Linked DNA regions of Homo sapiens: regions 1 and 2 are each linked to region 3. Evidence: promoter capture Hi-C in 16 types of primary human blood cells and fetal thymus (Javierre and others, 2016). All regions are on one chromosome and are shown on one strand. The core of a region is centred on a gene start or on the middle of the fragment in contact, and the rest is flanking DNA. Distances in the headings are between cores, read along the strand shown.

Region 1 (3,450 bases), core at 497-2,996, 480 kb after region 3:
TATGTCTATAGCACACACAGTCAGTGTATACCTTATTAATAAAATTCAGTATAAACATCTTTGCAAAAAAACTGTTATTTACACCCAGAAATTTTATTTCCTATCATCAAATACAGAGCAAACTGAATTTAGAAATCTGAATCCAACAAAGGATTTCGAAGAATCCACAATCCATGTTCTGTACCCAATTATTAAAGTTCAAGTGATAGATAAGTATATAATCTTAAGAGAAAAGCAGATTATAAAATCTTATATTGAATCAATTATGTTCAAAAATGTATATAAAATACTCATATATACATACATCTTCTTTATGTTTTCTGCATCTTCTAAATTTCCTACTATAAATACATAGAGAGCTATATTTAAAAAAAAACTATAGAACTATTTTGCAATGAGACATGTAGAGAATTGGGCCATCATCTCAAAGAAAACATGTAAAAGAAAAATCCTTATTCCTTCTTATCCAATCAAAATGCTCACAATTTAAATTCCTAAGGGAATTCCACCACCCTGGAATTGTACTACTCGGTTTCCAGGTATCTACAACTCTCTCTGAAAGCAGGCTTCTTTCAAGTTAATGCATTTCCTGTAAGAACGTTAGTTCTCATGTTCAATATATAAGCCATATCAATTTCAAAGATAAATAATATACCAAACAAGAAAGTATAAGAACTTTATGTCTTAAAAATTAAAGATACTGGATATAATTCCTTGAAGCACGCTTTGCAAAGTTTTCACAACAAAGTTTAAAATATAACATTTAATTTATTCTATATTGTAAAATTTATCCTTTTTCATCATAGCAGTCAACTGAAATGGTTCACTAGCCTCTTAAACTTGGGGTTTTAATCATTTCTTAATTTGAACTGTGTTTCCACTTTCTCCTTATTGATAATGGCAACAAAATCTGAAGTGTTTACACAATCCATTCAACTAGTCAACACATTTATTGAGCAACCATTACAGGCAATATCTGTTGAAGGAATAAACATAGTAAATGCTGAGTGTAGAGCAGTGAGCAATCAGACAAGGTAAAACTGCTAAAACAACTATAATAAACTCTACTATAAACAACTGTACTCAAAAATAGTACTTTTCCAAGTTGAAGAATAAGAGGGAAAAGAAACATGCAACATCCTAAAGCCAAGGTTTTAAAATCCTTGAAAATGCAAATTCTAGTATCCATCTGGAAAATATATTTATTCTCCACCTTTCACCAGTGCATTTCACAGCTGCTTCTGAAGCTGTATTCCACTAAAAGGTATACTTGATCATGACTGGATTTTACATTGGATTGGTTTTTCCAAAGGAAACAAATGGTTTACACTGGATTTTCCAAAGGAAACAAACAGAAAAGATCAGGGAAGAACTTAAAAAAGCATAAGGTTTAGGAAGAAGTATTTAACGTATCCATTCAGCAATCGCTCATTATCTTCCTACTGTGAACAAGACGCTAGGCAGTGCTGGGAATACAGGCAACAGACTAATTTGGAGAAGAAAAATTCCTTATGACAAGCAGACTCTACTCCACCCAGCTTTCTTTTTCATATAACAAATATTTAATGGAAATGATTATTCGATTATTTCTGTATCAATGAATTTTCATTATACATAAATCATTCACTTGTTGAGCTGGCCAAAAACCTGGGGGGAGGATCCAATTTTGAGTGGAGAAAGTGAACTTTTCAACTGCGACACCCATCTTGCAGCCTATATAAGTTTAGCTTTCTGGCTTGCTGGCACAACTTCCTCTCCAGTTGTGGCCACCTTCCCCAGGCCATGGATCTCTCCAACAACACCATGTCACTCTCAGTGCGCACCCCCGGACTGTCCCGGCGGCTCTCCTCGCAGAGTGTGATAGGCAGACCCAGGGGCATGTCTGCTTCCAGTGTTGGAAGTGGTTATGGGGGAAGTGCCTTTGGCTTTGGAGCCAGCTGTGGGGGAGGCTTTTCTGCTGCTTCCATGTTTGGTTCTAGTTCCGGCTTTGGGGGTGGCTCCGGAAGTTCCATGGCAGGAGGACTGGGTGCTGGTTATGGGAGAGCCCTGGGTGGAGGTAGCTTTGGAGGGCTGGGGATGGGATTTGGGGGCAGCCCAGGAGGTGGCTCTCTAGGTATTCTCTCGGGCAATGATGGAGGCCTTCTTTCTGGATCAGAAAAAGAAACTATGCAAAATCTTAATGATAGATTAGCTTCCTACCTGGATAAGGTGCGAGCTCTAGAAGAGGCTAATACTGAGCTAGAAAATAAAATTCGAGAATGGTATGAAACACGAGGAACTGGGACTGCAGATGCTTCACAGAGCGATTACAGCAAATATTATCCACTGATTGAAGACCTCAGGAATAAGGTAAGATCTCTTTTGGAGGCGCTTTGGGAATTTTTTTTTTCCTTTTTACCATTACAATGTTTTACAGTGATAATCACCTACAACTTTGATATTTTCCAATTTAGCTGTACTTGCAGCAATTTTCTCATCCCAGGTTGTTTCACTCCACTTTATCATTTACTAAGAAATGATTGTATTTCCATTATCTTTCTGTAGGAAATCTGCATTTCTTTACTTCTCAATATTATTTTATACAGATATTGTCTTAGAAAAATGAAACTGTCTTAAACTCTAAATAAAACAGCATTTAATATCACCATTTTCACCTTTGTGTCAAAAATATATTTGTATAATACTAGTCTTTTAGGGCTTCAATCTTGTGTGTGTCCCTCTCTTTTGCCAGATCATTTCAGCCAGCATTGGAAATGCCCAGCTCCTCTTGCAGATTGACAATGCGAGACTAGCTGCTGAGGACTTCAGGATGAAGTGAGTCGAATAAACTGAAGATCATGGGCGTGTCCCACCATGTCTTCTGTCCTACTGTCCTGCCTTCATTGATATAAAATCTTCTGAAGTTCACATACTCCATATATTTACTGTTTTGGTAAATTCACATAGGGTGTTCTAGAAAGTAATTAGAATCTAATGCAATTCAGATTAAATGTCCTTAAATTATAAGTTACTTAAACCCAGGGCTATGGATCACGATATTTGTAGTGTGCTATTGACTCAACTCATGATGTGACTGACACCATAATCCTACCAGTGTCCTAAACCTCAATTTTCTTTTTTTGTTTTTTGTTTTTTGTTTTTGAGATGGAGTCTCGCTCTGTCACCCAGGCTGGAGTGCAGTGACGCGATCTCGGCTCACTGCAACCCCTGCCTCCCAGGTTCAAGTGATTCTCCTGCCTCAGCCTCCCGAGTAGCTGGGATTACAGGCGGCTGCCACCGTGCCCAGCTAATTATTGTATTTTTAGTAGAGACGGGGTTTCACTATCTTGGCCAGGCTGGTCTCAAACTCCTGACCTCATGATCCACCCGCCTCTAAACCTCAATTTTCAATGTATCAACCATTGTTTTCCTGATGACACATACAATGGAAAGATTAACCATGTACTAATT
Region 2 (3,677 bases), core at 1,085-3,584, 410 kb after region 3:
TTAATGCTTTTAAAATGATGCTTTTAAAAAAGCATCATTTCTTTTAAAATCCAATGGAACTCTACACATTAGAAGTTATGGAAAACCAGGGCCGGGTGCGGTGGCTCATGCCTATAATCCCAGCACTTTGGGAGGCCGAGGTGGGTGGATCACAAAGTCAGAAGTTCAAGATCTGCCTGGCCAACATGGTAAAACCCCGTCTCTACTAAAAACTACAAAGATTAGCCGGGCGTGGTGGCACGCACCTGTGGTCCCGGCTACTCGGGAGGCTGAGGCAGAAGAATCGCTTGAACCCGGGAGGTGGAGGTTGCAGTGAGCCACGATCACATCACTGCACTCCAGCCTGGGCGACAGGGCGAGACTCTGTCTCAAAAAAAAAAAAAAGAAGTTATGGAAAATTGGCTGGGCAGGGTGGCTCATGCCTGTAATCCCAGCACTTTGGGAGGCCAAGGCAGGCAGATCATGAGGTCAGGAGTTCAAGACCAGCCTGGCCAACATGGTGAAACCCCGTCTCTACTAAAAATACAAAAAATTAGCTGGGCATGGTGGTGCGCACCTGTAATCCTAGCTACTCGGGAGGCTGAGGCAGGAGAATCGCTTGAACCCAGGAGGCGGAGGTTGCAGTGAGTCAAGATTGCGCCATTGCACTCCAGCCTGGGTGACAGAGCAAAACTCCATCTTGAGAAAAAAAAAAAAAGAAGTTATGGGAAACCATCATATAACAGTACTAGAAGAGACTATTTCTCCCCAGTGCTCTCAGATCTCACCACCAGTTTTTCCTGGCCCTGGTCCTGCTATGACACAAGAAATCTTTTGCTCAAGGATAAGTCCTATAAATCAAAACTCCCACACATGGACATAAAATGAGACAGTGGCCAAATCTATGGGGTTGATAAGTCACTGCCACTCAGACATGCCTGAAATAATTAGAGAAGCATTAATTTCATTGTAGATTCTGGTGAGAGAATTTAGAAAAAGGCAGTGCAGCCCGGCCCTTGCACATGCTAAAGGTAAATGTTTTCTTCCTTGGTAAGTCTGGGTCCAGGCGAACAGGAACCAGAGCTGACCATAACTTTGATGACCAGGAACCGTCCACATCCACAGAACACTGGTTGCCACCACTCGCCAAACAAGTCTCTCTAGTTCCCTCATTTGCTCTATTTTTATCACTTGTCTCTTTTGTCTTTTTCTCATATCTGAGATGTAAGTGACTGTCGGCACTCTTTCTAAGCACTCTCCAAGCTTCCCTGAGGCTTGGAGGCTCATTTTTCCAGCTCGTGCACAGTGAAATAAAAAATATTCAGAGACTCTTCCCTGATAAGGTTTTGTTGTAAGACTGGGAGGAGCAGAGCTGGTGTGCTTTTGGGTGGCTTTATTTGTAATTGGAAAAGATTGGCCTTCATGGATGGTTAATCTATACCCAGGAGAGGCGTTTTCCTACTTTCTAGTTCTATAACTCACAGTCCTAAAAGGAGCAGAAGTTGATGGCATCAGGAGACCTGTGTTAAAATCCTGACTCTAAAAAGTTTATGATTGAGTCAACATACATTTGCAAAATACCACCAAGAAACCAGACTTTGGTGCTCAAAAATGGAAGACATAAACTCTGCTTTCAAGAAGCCTGCGGTCTCAGAAGGGTGTGGCAAATGCAGTATAATGGAGTGAAAGAACGGAGTGGACTTCATCCCAGGCACAGGAGGTGGCTGCGCCTGGCTAGGGGCTCCCAGCTTCCACCATGAGGTGGGATGCCAAGGTGTCTGCCCCTCTGGAGGACCTCGGCATCCAGAAGAGGCAGTTTCCTCCTAGAGGGTCACCCAACTCATGCAGGAGAATTCAGAAAATGATTGTTGAAGGAGGTAGCCCTTGAACTATAGAAGAGGTAGGGGTGAGTGACTTTCCAGGCAGGGAGGACAGCACAGACTCGGGCAGTGTCACCTATGAATTCATGTGCTCAATTACACTGTACATGCGAATCAGCTCTGGATCATTCATCCCTATGAGACCCTGATTCTTTGTCTGCAAAATGAAGACAACAACCCTTGCCTGGATACATAAAGAGTTGTGAGGATTCAATAAAGAATATAAAAGAGCTACACCAATTGGCAAGTCCTATTATTATGAAAGAGAAGTGTGGTACAGGACCTGTCAAGATTCAACCCAAGATAACAGTGCTATGTGGAGAAAGAATCTAGCCCTGGCTCTGCCACTAACCTCCCCACCACCATAGGCCTCAGCTTTCCTCATCTGTCCAATTAGTGGCTTGGAACCAGAAAGGCCAGAAGCCCTTCCTGCGCTGATATTTTATTTGTAAGTCCCCTTTAAATCCAACTGCCAGTAACTAGCACGTGGCTCCCGCCCCCAGACTGCTTCTTTATTCATTCCTAACCTTTACCTTGGCAGATGAAATATAAGATTCATCAACCACATTTGACAGCCCATGGCAGGTTTCCTGTTTTCCATCGTCCCTCTGCAGGTCACAGACACACAGAGCCCAGCCGTGGCAGGCTCAGCCGGGGTCCGGGGCTGCTAACAACGGCTACATTCCTCCCCCAGGGCCAAGGGAAATCCTGAGCGCAGGCCAGGGTTGTTTGGTTTTGAGGTGTGCTGGGATGAAAGGCACCCTGGAAGTGGAAGGTTCGGTCATTCATTAATTAATTACATCTATAATTGAGGGTTTGTTCTTAAGAGCGAGTCCTTTGAAAGTACTTTCCTTCAAACAGTGACTGCCACAAAGGCATCAGATATTCACCACCTTCTCGGCTGCCTCAGCACAGCAAGCTTTATTCTGGGACCTGAGATCCTGTTCTGAGCTGGCTTTCCCTTCTCCAGGCTCGCTCACCCTCCCTTTAGAGGTGGGGCTTATTGGGGGTGGAAAAAGGTGTGTGTATCTCTGTTGTTTAATGTCTGGTTTTTTGTTGCTGTTGTTGTTGTTTTGTTTTGGTTTTGGTTTTTGGTTTTTTTTAAGGAAATCTATACTACATCGAATATGCTTTCTTTTGGGTGGACTTTAACCTAACCCATTCCAGGTAAATGAACAATGGAAAAACTTCACGGCAAGATTAGAAAGATACCTGAGCCCAATACCCGCCTGATGTCGTGGGCCACACCTCCGGGTTACCAGGGGAAGGGAGGAAGCAAACTGTCATATTGATGTGGCTCTAAACAACAACAGTGTGCGAAGGCCCAGGGGCACTTTGGGATTGACCAAGAGGAAACACAAGTTGCACAATGATACAATCTTGTTGGTACAATTGTCAGAGAAGGGAACTCCCACAGCAAAGGCCATAAAACCATCCAGGGCAGTCTGGGGCGGCTCAGTTCTGCGGTGCCAGGGAGTGGAGCAGAGCTCAGCCCCGTCCCAAACACAGATGGGACCATGAACTCCGGACACAGCTTCAGCCAGACCCCCTCGGCCTCCTTCCATGGCGCCGGAGGTGGCTGGGGCCGGCCCAGGAGCTTCCCCAGGGCTCCCACCGTCCATGGCGGTGCGGGGGGAGCCCGCATCTCCCTGTCCTTCACCACGCGGAGCTGCCCACCCCCTGGAGGGTCTTGGGGTTCTGGAAGAAGCAGCCCCCTACTAGGCGGAAATGGGAAGGCCACCATGCAGAATCTCAACGACCGCCTGGCCTCCTACCTGGAGAAGGTTCGCGCCCTGGAGGAGGCCAACATGAAGCTGG
Region 3 (3,471 bases), core at 953-3,452:
AACCAATGCATGTGACAAGTCCACTGGGCCCTGTATCTCTAATCCCTGTGGCCTACGTGCTCGGTGTGGGCCTTGCAACACATTTGGGTACTAGAGGCCCCACAACCAGGAGGAGAAGAAAGGCATCAGTCACACCTCAACTCTACTTCATCCCAACATCTCCAACAGTGACCACACTTTGGAAAGAGGCAGAAACCTTTCTATCAACCCTGGCTTCCAGGGGTCAGCTCTAGCCTTCCACTGTATTCCCTGGCTTGATTCTTCAGCATAAGGCTGCAAAATCTGTCTTCTGAGTCACATAGAGAGACCTACAGCAGGATCAAGATCAAGCAATATCTATCACCATAAAGACACATTTGCATAACATGTTATACTTGAATAAAACTTAAATAATACAATTTAGAGAAAATTCCATTAAATGTGATAGAGCTGATGGGCATGCTATGAAACAGAACATAATTGGAGCAAATCTTCCTTGTCACTCTTGGTCTTTGGAGATGCAATAGAAATCCTTTGTTAACCTCCTAATAAACTGTTATTCAAAAGTTATAATTGTCTGTTTCACTCATTAATTCCAAAATTGGCTGTCTTGTATAAATTAAAAAAATAACCAGAGTTTTTCCATCAGATGAAGAGGTTATTCACCCCATATATGGCCTATGATTTCCTTCAATGGAAAAGCCTCCATGAAAGACTATTAACCCGGATTTAGTGTTTGGGAAGAAGGTGGTGGGAAACAGAATGGCAAATTCATATGAAGGTGTCTTTAGAGACACAGGAACTATTTATTCTGAAACATTAAGTGGAGGGATCCGAAAACCTTTTGAGTAAAAAAAAAACCTGTACTGAGGTAATATAAATCTATCACCTTAACATATGGTATATAATCTCATATACACATATACATAACCACATACCATATAAGCATATGTACACCACACACACATGCACACACACAACCATGCTGTGCTGAAATGTTTAGGTAGAAAGTAGGAAGGAGCAGCAAAGGGTAGAGGGATATAGTGGCCAGGAGGAGTGTGGGATCTGCTAGGCTGGATGGTGGGGAGGTGCCTTTGGTTCACCTTCCTCTCTTTGTTCCTGCCTCGGCACTCAAGGACTCCTTGTGACTTTCTGTAGTTCTATGATGTGGGCCTGGAACTCTATGCTGGAGTTCTCTGCTCAGTTGCCTGGGGTCTGCGTCAGATGATGGAGAACTGTGAGTGGGTTATTTGGCGGAAAAGTCTCTTTTGTCCTAGTGAGCCTTGAGCTTTGGCCCCACCTGTTTTTATTTATATGCAGTTGGGACCATCATTATGTCACATTACTGCCTTCAGTGGCATCCAGATTTGGCAATGTTTAAAAAAACAAAAACAGCAATCAAGTAAGGAAACCCAAGGCCCAGCCCACAAATGAGATTGAGTCTCATTTTTCACTTCTCTACTCCTACTTTTCTAAATCAATGATTGAAATGAAGAGATATTGAGAATGGGAACTCTTAATAGAGATTAGAATATCATCAACCTATGAGAACAGGTAGGGAGGGGCAGGAGGTAGAGTGGGGGTTGGAAATTCTCTCCAAAACTTGCAGACCATATATTTAGGTGTGGTAGAGATGTCCAGGGAAAAATACCCAAAACCTTCCATTCAGGGCTGTGGATACCAGAGGACAGCTAAGGAGACCAGCCCTCAACAGTTGCTCGTGGCCACCTTCTTCCCTTAGGTGCGGACCAGTCCTCTCTTTTGCGTTAGGGCTAACATAGAGAGAATGCTGAGTCTCAAAGATTGGTCACTCGCTACTCCATTTGTCTTCAGCAGCACAGTCCTATAGAATGGAGAACAGATGTTCCTGAGGATCTGAGAGTCTGGGCTCCTTTTTAGTGGAAGATCATGTATATAAAACATTTCTTTATTTGAGTTTGGAAGAGAAGAATCAGTAGAAAAGGTCTTTATAAACTTTAAAAATAACCTGGATAGGATACAGATTTCAATTAAATCAATGTAGAAAGTCACCTCATCATTAATCATGAATGTCTGCTGCTTGCTTGGAAGGAGGAGATAAATAATGGGTTCAGAATCCTTTCTTTCTCTCTTGTATATTTCAGCAACAATGCAGAGGCAGGAAAAAAAAAGCAAGAATTCTTAAAGGCGAGGTTCTGTTATTCAACCCTGGGCTTTCCCAGGTGCAAACTTAATTTCTCCTTTCTGCAGGTTCCCAGGTCTGCAGTCGCTGAGGTCATCAGCTCCTCGAGCCAGGCCTTCTCAGAAAACAGTGCTCTGAGGGGAGAGGCCCATAGCAAGGAAGCAAGGAAACAAGACCCTGGGAAATGTCTCCTAATCCCTGCCCCACCCTTCCCTGTGAAATAAACCATGATGGCGCTGGGCTATGAGTCTTACCCACTAGGAGATGGTGTGGGATGCTGTGATGAGAAGAAGAATTATGGCTTGTTTTGGAGGCAACATTTTTTGGTCCTGGTTTTGGATATATTGTTGACTCCCCTGACCATCAGAGTCCTCCTTTTGAGAGACCTGGCCTGGCAGCATTGTGGGGTTGTGAAGATCCCCTGTGTATGGAAGTGCTTTATAAATGGTGCAGCATGGTACCTATGTAAGACTCAGTATTCTTGTTGTTGACACTTTGACCTTGAATACGAATTCCTGGGCTCTTGGGATCTAAGTTTGATATTGTCTAGTCCCAGTAAAACATTCTACTCAGCCTCCTAACAGCCTGTTTGCTCCTATTTTTGACAGATGTGAACCGAGCTCCTATTGTCTCAGTTTGGAGAGCTTGCCTGAGAGGTGACATTTGCATTGAGACCTGAAAACAGAGAAGAAACAGAGCAGAGGGAAAGAGCTTTCCAGAGAGAGGGACAGAAAGTCAAGGAAGGGAGGGAGTAAGGCAGTTGCCTTTGAAGAAGGGAGCAAGGCCAGGGCATCGGGAGTGATGAGTAGGGGAGGAACAATCAGCCTGTATGTGTGGGCAGTGGCCAGGGTACATGGGGGCTCGCCAGTTCTGTGGAGGATCCGATTTCATTTCAAGGGAAGAGGAAAGCCTTGGGAGAGTTAAAAGGATGAATTTGATTGACACTTTTATTAAAAGGAGTGCATTGGCAGCTGAATGGAAAATAGGTTTACTGAACACTAACATTTAAAGTTTCAGGGTAGTGGATGACAATTACAAGTCAGGTATGTCTTCTTTTATGTTTCAAAGAAGAATCACTGACATCTAACAACAACTGCTCACATTTCTCATCAAAAACAGGAGAGTCTGGCAGCAGGCACCAAAAGTCCCAAGAATGGCTCCAACTATAAAAGGATATGAGGATGACATGATCTGTCCCTTGTTATTGCAAAATGCACACTGACAACTTGATGAAGTTATGTGCCAGGCAGGTGGGCCCCGGCCCCACCAGGCTCCTCGCTGAGCCTGCTGCAGGTGTGCAGAGGTAGCTTTCCCTCACTCTCACTTTTTTT

What was found. Contacts are between HindIII fragments. The CHiCAGO score rates a contact against its expected background, and 5 or more counts as called.
Region 1: a contact is called between the fragment with the promoter of KRT12 here and a fragment that was not itself captured in region 3, in 1 of 17 cell types (M0 macrophages). The highest score is 5.5, in M0 macrophages.
Region 2: a contact is called between the fragment with the promoter of KRT23 here and a fragment that was not itself captured in region 3, in 6 of 17 cell types (endothelial precursors, M0 macrophages, M2 macrophages and 3 more). The highest score is 7.5, in endothelial precursors.

The regions. Positions count from the first base shown.
Region 1 is chr17:40,865,519-40,868,968 of GRCh38, reverse strand. It overlaps KRT12 (keratin 12), which reads left to right and starts at 1,746. Exons shown (of 8, transcript NM_000223.4): 1 at 1,746-2,349; 2 at 2,732-2,814. The coding sequence starts at 1,783. All of the region lies in intron 1 of LOC105371777 (a long non-coding RNA gene), which reads right to left. The HindIII fragment of the contact is 7,860 bases long and covers 1-3,450 here.
Region 2 is chr17:40,936,303-40,939,979 of GRCh38, reverse strand. KRT23 (keratin 23) reads left to right here and starts at 2,334. Exons shown (of 9, transcript NM_015515.5): 1 at 2,334-2,634; 2 at 3,027-3,677. The coding sequence starts at 3,377. All of the region lies in intron 1 of LOC107985072 (a long non-coding RNA gene), which reads right to left. The HindIII fragment of the contact is 1,536 bases long and covers 1,245-2,780 here.
Region 3 is chr17:41,342,742-41,346,212 of GRCh38, reverse strand. KRT33A (keratin 33A) reads left to right here. Exons shown (of 7, transcript NM_004138.4): 7 at 1-121. The coding sequence ends at 94. Among named protein-coding and RNA genes, the nearest start is that of KRT33A, 6.4 kb to the left of the region's middle. The HindIII fragment of the contact is 4,681 bases long and covers 1-3,471 here.